Regions from separate parts of the Homo sapiens genome. Here region 2 is linked to region 1. The links are contacts of gene promoters, found by promoter capture Hi-C in blood cells and fetal thymus (Javierre and others, 2016). All regions are on one chromosome and are shown on one strand. The core of a region is centred on a gene start or on the middle of the fragment in contact, and the rest is flanking DNA. Distances in the headings are between cores, read along the strand shown.

Region 1 (5,959 bases), core at 1,733-4,232:
GACGCCTGGACGTGGCAGGGCGTGCAAGGCTGCACCGACTCCCTACGGAAGCCCCGACTTACAAGGCAGCACGTCTTTGTAGCGGTTCTTCCTCACGTTCTCTGGCCGACTGCCGGCCACGGTGGAGCACACGCCGTCAGCCTTCCAGGCGGCCGAGCAGGCCTGGATGTCCTGGTAGAGCATTATGAGTGGGTCAGGGAGGGGAGAAGACAGGAGAGGAGCCAGGTCAGAGTCCCAGGCCACCTAGGCACGCTTGCAGGATACAAAGCCAGTGGCCTGGGGAGGTGAGTGCAGACCCTGATGGCACTGGGCCTGCCTAATAATAATGATACCGAAATAGTGACCCAGGGCACCTTCTCTGTGCCACTCTCTGTGCTAAGGGCATGTAATCATCACAGGTTCCTACGACGTGGGTACTATTATTGACGTCCCCATTGTGCAGGCGGGAAAGTTTATGCACCACGTGGTTCAGCGACTTGTGGAAGGTCCCAACCAGGAAGTCACACGGTGAGGGTTGAACTCAGACCCTCTCGGCACCCACCCCCTGCACACTCAATCTGTGACATTGTCTTGTAAGCAATAACTGTAATGAAATATATTATGGGCTATGTAGCTAAACATATAAGACAATGTACAATGAATGCATAGGCATTATAATGGATAACATATTATGTACAAGATACTATAGGCACTGTGTTACTGGGAGATTATAATAATAATTAGTGAATCGTGTATTACCATCATCGTCAGGTATTCGTAATCTCAATGATAATAAGTAACACCCATGCCACCACTGTGTGCCAGCCACTATTCTAAGTGCTTTACTTGTGTCCATTGGGTCATTTAAGCCCTCATGATGCCCTTGTGTAGTGGGAACACCTAGAAGAGCGCAGTGATTCCTGCACATGCGGGAGGCAGGCTTGGGGAGCAGGGGTGCCCTCGCCACCCAGCCTTCCGCATGTGAGGCCCTCCGCACTGTACACGGTTCAGAACCCACCCAGTCGCATGATGTCATATATCACATGGGTATTATGTTTACATTTGTTACACACATTCTTATATTGTATAATTATATATTTTACATTTATTATGCATTTCTTAGTTTCTTATATACAATGTTTCTACATGTGTGTAAATTACTTAGGTTTATAATTATCTGTTACTTTTTTTTTTTTTTTTTTTGAGATGGAGTCTCGCTCTGTTGCCCAGGCTGGACTGCAGTGGCGCGATCTCGGCTCACTGCAAGCTCCGCCTCCCGGGTTCACGCCATTCTCCTGCCTCAGCCACCCGAGTAGCTGGGACTACAGGCGCCCGCCACCACGCCCAGCTAATTTTTTGTGTGTTTAGTAGAGACGGGGTTTCACCGTGTTAGCCAGGATGGTGTGGATCTCCTGACCTCGTGATCCGCCCGCCTCGGCCTCCCAAAGTGCTGGGATTATAGGCGTGAGCCACCGTGCCCGGCCATCTGTTACATATTTTATATCTACTTATGAATTTATCAAATAACTTTGGTCATTTTATAAATTATAATCTTTGTTATATTCATTTGTTGTATTGTTTTATGCAGTTATGCAATGTTTATTGTATAAACGGTCATTTATAATACTTTTATATATTTGTCATATTTCTAAACTTGATACATGTCACCATATATCAGTTTATGCGTTTGTATGGTATGTTTCTATGTCTGGTACATAAGCGATTACACTTTAAACACGTCATCAACTGTAATGTACAGTGCCTAGCATTCTGCGTGAGCCTTCCTAATGCTGGGCTTGCACTACCTGTATTGTAACGTTTAGATTTTTTGTTTGGTTTTGTTTTGTTTGAGATGGGATCTCACTCTGTGGCCCAGGCTGGAGTGCAGTGGCACCATCTCAGCTGTGCAGTGGAACCATCTCAGCTCACTGCAACCTCTGCCTCCCAGGTTCAAGCGAGTCCCCTGTCTCTGCTCCCTAGTAGCTGGGATTACAGGCATGCGCCCATGCCCAGTTGATTTTTGTATTTTTAGTAGAGACGGGGTTTCGCTGTGTTGCCCAGGCTGGTCTCGAACTCCTGAGCTCAAGCGATCCTCCCACCTCGGCCTCCCAAAGTGCTGGGATTACAGGTGTGAGCCACCGCACCTGGCCCACGTTTAGAATCTTTATAGGCAGTGACGAACGCCCCTACGAAGTGTGCGCCCAATATGTACTAAGTGCTTTTCACCCACATCATTTAATCCTTAGACCAGTTTGGTCATTCATGTCCCCATTTCACCAAGGGAGAAGCCGAGGTCAGAGGGGCCAGGTAGACCGCCTGGACCACACGCGGATGGCCGGGACGCGGATTCGGGACGGGAAGCGGATTCGGGCCCGGACGCGGATTCGAGCCCGGCGTTCACACCCTCACCACGCCACAGCCTCCGTGTTCCTCTTCGCCCTGCTGCAGCCCCTTCCTTCCTGTGGTCACAGGGGACAGTCAGGTCGCCAGAAGCGGCGGGGCCGGGGCTGTCCAGCGCAGCAGGGCCGCCCGCCCTCCCCTGCGGCGCCCGCCCCACCTGTCCCGCCCGCAGCCAGGTTGTTCCGGGAGCGCGACGAGGACACCGGGAACGAGGGTGTGCACGGTCCGTCCCGGCCTGGCCGTGGACGTCGCGCTCCGGGGCCGGGGGGCAGAGAGTGAAGACGGAGACAGCAAGAGCGACAGAGAAGTGCTGGGGAGAGAAACACGGAGAGACCCCCCGAGGCGGGGAGACACCGGGGACACCGAGACAGAAAGGCAGAGCCCGCCGTGCGCGGAGGACAGGCGTACGCAGGGCCAGGGCCGGGGCGCGCCGCTCGCGGACCCCGTGTGCCACTCACGCTGAACTCGCCGGCGAGGACTGCCCCCTCCCGGCCGCCCCGCGCTTCCAGCCGCTCCAGGAAGCTCCGCGCCGAGTCCAGGCTGCGGCTCATGGCGCCGCGGGCCAGCAAGGTCCAGCCCGGCCGCCGCGCGCGCGGCGAGTGTGGACGCCGCGGGAGGCGGAGGCCGGTGACTGAGTCCCCGCCCTTGCCTCGGCAGCCAATGGAAGCGCGCAGCGGCGGGCAGGGCGCCCCAGCCACCGTGTTCTGAGCCCGCGTAGCCCCACCCCGGGCGCTCGGGCCGCTGTGGCCGGAGCCCTAGGTCCTCGCGGGCTGCCCTGAGCAGAGTCCAGCGCCGGCGCTTCCCCTTTTTTTCGGCTGCCGCGCCCACTGGTGGGGGGGTGGCACGGTCCCAGGTTCGCTCCCTGCCGCTTGGGACCCGCCCTCAGATCGGGATCCGCGCCCAGGGGCCGACCTCCGGGTGCCGGCTCTGGGTGGACGGCCGAGCGGTCTCGCCGGGCCCTCCCGCCCGTCCCCTGGGAGCCAGGCCGCGCGGAGTCCGAGCTGGGGCGGGCAGCAGCCTTGGGTGGAGACGGTCGCCGAGATCAGGCTGCCCCTCGTGCCAGAGGACCCCGGGTCGGGGGCGTCCCGCGCTGTGCGCTCCAGCCGGGCCCAAGGGAGGCCGGGGAGGGGCAGCCACGCCGTGGGAAAGGCCAAGTGGCAGCGGGATCTTCTCTGTGTATTTCCCGAGGAATTTGTGGTTCCTTTTTCCCGGATGCGCTGGGGCACCAGGGTCAGTCCTGTGTGAGCATCTCGACCTGCACAAGCCTGCTGGGAAACAGAACTGAGGCACTGGAAGTGGGTTCTGGGGAACGAAGAGCTTCTCTTTTTTGCCTGCCCTGACACTCCCATCTTCAGAAAGTGTGCAGAGGTCAGAGGAGAGCCGCCGTTCCAGCTTCCGGGATCACCGAGGGGAGGCTGGAGAGAATGGACTGGCACCTGGGTCTCTTCAAGGACAGGCCTAGGTTAGCCCCCTTCTCGCCGAGGTCGGAAGAATTAAGAGGGGTGTCACTGGAAGGGGCGTCAGTGGACACCAGTTTGAGGTCGTTGAGGGGTTGAAAGGTAGCATTGGGGCCTGGATGTGTGCCTGAGTCTCTGAAGGGTCAACAGGGGCATGATGTCAGGTGGTCAATTTAATTCACTAGGGGCTATCAGAGTATTTAAGGGCACACTTTCTTAAAGGTCCCGGTAGGAAGTGGTTTTGGCTTTGCTATCGCTGCCCCAGCTGCTTAACTCAGCTGTGGCAGCATGAAAGCAGACAATATAGTGTGGCTGTGTCCCAAAGAAACCATTTATGGACAAAGAAATCAGAATTTCATGTAATGTTCATGTGTCATGAATTATTCTAGTGTGTGTGTGTGGCCTACAGGCTGTCGTTTGCTGACCTTGGCTGAAGTGATGGAGCGATCAAAGTGGCTCTGTGGGGATCAGCAGCTAGGGCTGTTTGATTTATCGTGGGGTCCGCAGGGGTCACTGTGAGATTCATGTTCATCATTTATCAGTTTCATCTTTGAGCATTCTCAGGGAGGTAATTGTTTAGGATGGTGGTGATAGGGAATTCATTGGAAGCCAGTCGGGGTCCCTTGGATGTTCATGGGGGGGGGGGTGTCAGTAGATATTAATGACAGTCATTGGGAGGCCAGTGGATACTTGGGACAAGAAGTGAAAGTAATTGTGGGGCCATTGGGATTTGGAGTGTTAGTAATTGAAGGGTCCGAAGAGTCTGGGAAGTCATTGAGAGCTCTGCTCAGTGCATGATAGTGACTCTCAGTATAATCATTGAGGGTTTGTGGATGGCCATGGAGATCCAGGGAGGTAGAATACAGAAGCATCAGTAAGCTTTCAGAAAATAAAGACATTTTCTGGGAAAATGTGAGCCCCTGAGCACACATGGTTATTCAGGGCAGTCTTTATGGGCTAGAGGATCTCTGTCCAGCAGCAGGGATCCTGTTGAGGGCCTGTCCTCATAGGCTGAGGTCTGTCTGACTGGTGGAGGGCATGTCGTCCAGCTGAAGGTCTGGTTGACTAGGTGGGTGGGGTGTTCTCTCCTCTGGGGTAATGTCTCTGTCCATTTTGGGGAGGGCACCTGTCCTTGAGGGATTCTGACCTTTGCCTGGCTGGGGGGCCCAGGTGTCTCTCTGGCCACAGGCCTATTTGGATGTCTGGCTGAGGGTCTACCCATCTGTCAGTAATCTGTCTGTTTGTCCAGCTGGGTGTTTCCCTGGGATTCTGTCCATCTGGAAGTCTGTCCAGCCAGGGTGTGTGTGTGTGTGTGTGTGTGTGTGTGTGTTTGGTGGTTTGTCTATTAGAGGATCTGAGTGACTAGCCAGATGCTGCCTTGTGGCCTGTGAACATTAAGTGGCTGAGGCTGTAGTCTGCCATTTGTACTTCCAGCTGCCTTGAGTGTCTTTCTGTCCTCGTGTTCACCCTCACTCCAAGCCCCACCTTGTTGTTTAACCCACCTGTCCTCCTGACACCTGACCGTTCCTCATGTCTCTCCAAACATCCAAACTCTTAGCTTGCCCTCTGTTCAGCTCAGGCTAGGTGTGGGGGATGGGAAGACCCCACATCTTCCAGAGGCCCTGGCCCACCCCGGCTTTTCTCTCCCGGAGGACTGCCAGCTGTGTTCTTGCAATGAGACTCACTGCTGCTGGTGGCCCTCCTGTTCACGCTGCCAGCAGCAGTCTTGCACAGTGGGAGCTGCTGGCACTGCTACAGAGACCCCAAGTGTACCAAAGCCCACGTGCCATGTGCCAGTCTGTCACCTGCCCACCAGTCAGTGTGGCTACATGGGCCGCTCAACAGAGCCAAGAGGACAAGGTAGAGGAAGATGCACAGGGACAGGTGCACAAGGCTGTGAGTTCAGCCTGCTCTGAGCCTGCAAAGGGGAAAAGAGAAACTACAGTGGAGACCCCTGGCAGACACCCCTTCCTCTGGGATGCTTGCGGGGAGCTCCTTGGAGACTGCTGGCATCTCCAGGGTACAGTTCTTCTCCAGCTTCCTTTTTTGCTTAGTTAAAAAAGGGCAGAGACCATCCTGGCTAACACAGTGAAACCCCGTTCTCTATTAAAAGTACAAAAAAT
Region 2 (5,948 bases), core at 2,350-4,849, 4.6 Mb before region 1:
ACAAGAATGAAACTCCGTCTCAGAAAAAAAAAAAAAAAAAAAGAAATACAATGTGAGGCCGGGCATGGTGGCTCATGCTGTAATCCCAGCACTGTGGGAGGCCAATGCAGGTGGATTACCTGAGGTCAGGAGTTCGAGACTAGCCTCACCAATATGGTGAAACCCCGTCTCTACTAAAATTAGCCAGGTGTGGTGGCACATGCCTATAATCCCAGCTACTTGAGAGGCTGAGGCAGGAGAATTGCTTGAACTGCATATTGTCACTAAGCACAAGCCTTAACTTCACTTTTAACTTTTAATAACAAATAGGTGAACTTCTACAGTTCTCATCCATTTCTTTTCTGTATCAGCTCCAAATAATTTAGAGAAAAATTCACGTTACATGTATTTCCTTATGTATAGCCATATAAAGAGTATGTAATATGTCACTAACAATCAGAGCCTTAGCTTATTTAGGGGTAAAATATTAGGTTAACACCAGAAAATGTAGAGTGGTAAGGAGATTCCATCATTTCCCCTAATCCCTAGAACATGTGTAAATATGTACTCCCTAGAATGTATATGTATGTTTATAATAAAATGCAGTTATCTAATTGGATTTTCACTTAAAAAATTACCTTAACCAATTTTAGCTATTAATACTAAAAACAAAACTCCTGTTCTGCAATGGCCTTGAAAATCAGTTTATAAACTATATAAAATCTGTCTGATTTTATACTGAGACATTTGCATGCCTTGGCCAATGCAAACACTCAATGCACATTTGTTAATATATTAACCTATTCTACTCTATACACCTAAGTTTAGAATTTGTTATGGTTTGAAAGCGCCTTGGATCTTGCAGGACTGGGTTCACTCTCTTGCACTCCTGCCATGCGATGACTCAACAAAAAGGATGAGCCAGGACCACAGAGAAGCATATAAATTACCAAGGCTAAAATATACATGTATCTGTGTGTGCAGAGAAAAGGTATGAGTTATTTCACAATCATTTAATTTTGCAAAAAAAAATTTTAAGCCGCTTCAGGAATACTTCATAAGACTTCTATAATAATACAGAGTCACTGAAGTCAGTATCCCTGTAATTAGGCAGATAAGAGCAGCATGTTTCAAAATAACATTTAAAGCTTTCTGGGGAAGTTCTAGAGTAGCTTTCAGAATTAATTTGAGAAAATCAATCAAAAATATCATATATTCTTTGTAATGCCTATTAATAAATGAACTCTCCCACAGCTTCCTTATTTAACAGAAACTTCAAGTGATTTATTCTTTTTAAAAAATCAACTTCATCTTACACTCATTTCCAGTGGGACCACAATAGGCTGTCATTTAAATGTACTTATAAATACTTCTGGAAAGATGAAGTCCCACTGGAAATGAGTGTATCATCTTCTGAATGAAGGTAAACTTTTAGTGATTTACCTGAAGAATTCTGAGTTGATGGCTGCAGAGGGGATACTTAAATCCCCACAGAAAAACAGAGCAACAAGATAGCAAAACCAAAACCCCATGGATAGCTACAACCAAATCACATGACAAGCCATTCCTAGGGAATTCCTAACACATACGAATGAGGAAAAAACAGGCTACTATGTCAACATACACAGCACAGTGCAACAAGATGCAAAGGAATGGGGCATGTGCTGGACTTGATATAAGAAGAACCTCAAAGAGCCAAAAGACATTCACTGGAAATCATGGCAGGCCAATGTGAGAAGAGCAGCTAGCACTGGGAGTTTTGCCAGTCCAATAAGTAGATGGATGCAAGAGACCTACAGTAAGGATTAAAAGACCGAAGCTAACTTCTACGAACTTTTGAAATTGATCTTCCAAGGTTCTCTTCCAAGACTCCAGTTTGAAGAGAAACCATTGGGAGGAAAAGCACAATCAGCAAGATAGGAAGAAGGGAAAAGAGAAACTAAAAATGTGGAGGGGAAGAGGGCCAGAAACTCCCAGAAAGTAAGCTGCTACACTTCTGAACATTACACAAAATAACAGAAAAGGGAGCTCTGTGAAATTATTAAAGCACTCTGAAGGTACATCACCTTTTTAAAGTTCAGGAAAGCTAATATCTCACAAAAATGAGTAACCGAAGAGTATTCAGTTCACACAAAGACTGTAAGAAAAGACTAGAAGAGTGGTGCTTAAAGTGACAAATCACACTGGAAAGAGCTGCTTTAGGCTGAGTGTTGGGAGGCTGAGGCAGGAGGACTGCTTGAGTCCAGGGGTTTAAGAACGGCCTGGGCAACATGGTGAGACCCCTGTCTCTACAAAAAATTAAAAAAATTAACTGTGTGGTGGCATGTGCCTGTAATTCCAGCTACTTGGGAGGCTAAGGTGGGGGAATCACTTGAACCCAGGAGGTTGATGCTGCAGTGAGCCATGATTGTGCCACTGCACTCCAGCCCGGGTGTCAGAGGGAGACCTAGTCTCAAAAAAAAAAAAAAAAAAAAAAAAGGCAGCTATCCAAGTTTCCAATATTATTGGAATCTAGAGTTACCATATGATCCAGCAATTCTACTCCTGGGTATAAGCCCAAGAGAAACCAAAAACACAAGTCTACACAAAAACTTGTACACAAATGTTCTTAAGAGCACTATTCATATTAGCCAAAAAGTGGCTAACAATCCAAATGCCCACCAACTGATGAACATATATATATAATGTGGTCTAGCCATACAGTGGAATAATGGGTAGTACAGCAAGAAAAGTAAACAACCTACTGAATAAATACAACAACATAGATGAGCCTTGAAAACACGGTAAGTGAAAGAAGTCAGTCACAAAGGACAACATACTGTAGGATTCCATTAATGAAATGTCTATTAATAGGCTGGGGGAAAAATAGGGAGAAATGACTGCGGGGTTGGGGGTTTCTTTTTGGTGTAGTGAAGACTTCTAAAAATTGATGCACACCTCTGTGAATATTCTTAAAAAAACCCACAAACCCCACGGAATCATACTTTCAATGGGTGAAATGTACAATATGTGAATTATATCACAAAAAGGGCAAAAATCCAGTAATTATCCTATATGATACGTGCCACTGGGTGTCCATATGAGATGAATCAAGAATTCCAATACAAAAATACCAATTTGTAAGAAAGAAATGACAGAATTAGAGTATCACCAATGAATGAAAGGACCCAGGCATTGAATATCAGCAGCCACTAACACTACAAAGAGAGACAACCAGACTTTAGACCTTCTGACCAAAGAACATTAACACCATCTATAGCCTTGCCTAAGGGATCTAACAGGAGTCTGATTAAGTTTCTGGATCTAATCATCAATTTTTCCAGGAATGCAAGAAAAAAGGAACACAGTAAACTGCACCATGAGTATACAATCAGCAAAATTCAGACAGTTGGAAACTCTACAGGTCACACACTCTAGGGTCCTTCAACAGCTACAACTTAGTTGACATAAAAAGATGGAGGGGAAACATGCATACTGAGAGACTTCAAAGACTTACCAAATTTTTAATAATGAGCAAGGTCTATGGTATTTGGGAATGCAGAGTTGGGTGCTAAAACTATAAAGAAAGTGATTAGAGTAAGAATACTGGGGCCGGGCGAGGTGGCTAACGCCTGTAATCCCAGCACTTTGGGAGGTCGAGGTGGGGGGAATCACGAGGTCAGGAGTTTGAGACCAGCCAGACCAACATGGTGAAAACCCGTCTCTACTAAAAATACAAAAATTAGCTGGGCATGGTGGTGCATGCCTGTAATCCCAGCTACCCAGGAGGCTAAGGCAGGAGATTCACTTGAACTCAGGAGGCGGAGGTTGCAGCGAGCCGAGATTGCACCACTGCACTCCAGCCTGGGCGACAAGACCAGACTCCTATCTCAAAAAAATAAAAAAGAATACTGGTTACTTTTGGAGGGAGGGGATCGACACTGAGTTGAGCACGTGGAGACATTCCGGGGTAGTTGGCAAAGTTCTATTTCTTGACTTGGTTGGTGATTACAAGGTTGTTTTATAATAATCCACTATACATTTGTTTGGTGGTTTTATATATTTTACAATTAAAAAGAAAACACTCATCTCATATATGTACAGTTACACTACAGCACTATAAACTCCCAAATAGATGGAATACAACTGGATGTGAATAAGATTCAAAGGTAAGATCAGAGAGATAAATTCACAAATGGAAAAGAGAGTTATCTGGGGAATGCTTTATGAAAGAGTAGCAACTTCAGCTGAGTCTTAAAACCTGACAGAGCACAGTCACATGAAAGCAAAGAGAAAGCACCCTAAGGAAAAACAGTGATACACAATGCATAAATGCTAACACTGATGTATAGTTGAAAAAGAGGAATTTGGGACTTATAAAGAGGACCTCATTGGATTTAGTGCAATGAGGCGGGCAAATAAAAATCTGAGGTTTTTTCATTGTTTACTTTATAAATCTTACAAATCACTGGCATAAATTGCTACTGTGCTCTACTTCTGAAATATACTAGAACAGGAAAAAGTGAGAACTACAGTTTGGGATTAAGCAAAGGACTTGGGTTCAAATCCCAGCCACGTAATAGTTTTAATTTCGGACAAGTCACTTGGTAACTGCGTCTGCTTCCTTAGGAGAATACTTTACCTGAGAAAACAAGACAAATATAAAGTGCCTGGCATAGTGAGATCTTAATAAAATTTCAACCAGGTAATTTATAGTTTAAAAGGAATTTAAAAATCATCTAGGCTAATCGTCTCAAATTTACAGGTTAGTACCTACTACATTGAAGAGCACAGATACACAAAACTTGCGCTATGCAGAAAGTTCTACTGGACAGCACTGCAGTATTTCCAAGTAATGCTAATGGATCTTGGGCATAAGATTATTGTTGGATTAATTATTGCTTTATTAAACTAAAAGGCAGAAAGAGAAGTAAGCTATAAACACCTGCTTAGACTTCACAATGAAACATATGCTGATTTGACTTCTGTAAAACATGACCAGAGTATAACAATGAATTGAAATGAACAGGAGAAAAAGCAAAATTTATTTATTTTTATTATTATTATTATTGTTTTTTGAGATAGAGTCTCGTTCTGTTGCCCAGGTTGGAGTGCAGTGATGTGATCTCGGCTCACTGCAACCTCCACCTCTCAGGTTCAAGTGATTCTCCTGCCTCAGCCTCCCCAGTAGCTGGGATTACAGGCACGTGCCACCACACCCAGCTAATTTTTATATTTTTAGTAGAGATGGGGTTTCATCATATTGGCCAGGCTGGTCTTGAACTCCTGACCTCAAGGGATCCGCCCACTTCAGCATCCCAAAGTGCCGGGATTACAGGCATTAGCTACCATGCCAGGCCCTACAATAGCTTTAAATCTTGCATATTATACATGGAGTTCTGATTGCTAGAGCTCAAGAAAGAGGCAATGGAAGTAAGAGAAGATGGAAAAGATCAAATAAATTGGAGATGTGCTATGAGAACAGACCATGACCAACAAAAATACTTAGAAAAGGGTGTGCTCTTTACAACCTAATCTTAAGAGACCTGGAACTGGTATAAGAAAAAAAATGCATCACAAAAGACCAAATTAGGAGTTTGTAAGAGAAGCTGGGTCAATATCTACTTAAGTGTGACTTGGGGGGTGGGTGCTTTCCCTCAGTATATACCTTGGCATCACTTTTGGCTCCAGGGCTTTTACACTTTACTAAATTTATTTTTGAGCTTGATCCAGCAAGGCCATTCTTTATTAATTCCAATTACATGAACCTCATTGCATCTAGTGAACAAAGTGTAGATTTATCTAATTAGGCTACATATAAAAGTCATTTACTGCTGACAGCTATTCAACTCTGAGTAACTGACAAAAGAACTCAATGATAAGAGACCATTTCTGGGTCACCAAAACATGCTGATACTGATTTTATTCTTAAATATTAATACAGCAGCACATTACTTTTGGGGGTTTTAAAACTTTTAATATGTCAATGT

Evidence for each region. Contacts are between HindIII fragments. The CHiCAGO score rates a contact against its expected background, and 5 or more counts as called.
Region 2: a contact is called between a fragment that was not itself captured here and the fragment with the promoter of PTPN18 in region 1, in 1 of 17 cell types (neutrophils). The highest score is 9.0, in neutrophils.

The regions. Positions count from the first base shown.
Region 1 is chr2:130,353,079-130,359,037 of GRCh38, reverse strand. It overlaps PTPN18 (protein tyrosine phosphatase non-receptor type 18), which reads right to left and starts at 2,982. Exons shown (of 15, transcript NM_014369.4): 1 at 2,838-2,982; 2 at 63-171. The coding sequence starts at 2,930. RefSeq lists silencers at 2,543-2,592, 2,733-3,402. The HindIII fragment of the contact is 15,291 bases long and covers 1-4,717 here.
Region 2 is chr2:134,922,369-134,928,316 of GRCh38, reverse strand. The region is part of intron 2 of CCNT2 (cyclin T2); the gene reads right to left. Among named protein-coding and RNA genes, the nearest start is that of CCNT2, 6.5 kb to the right of the region's middle. The HindIII fragment of the contact is 4,940 bases long and covers 1,130-5,948 here.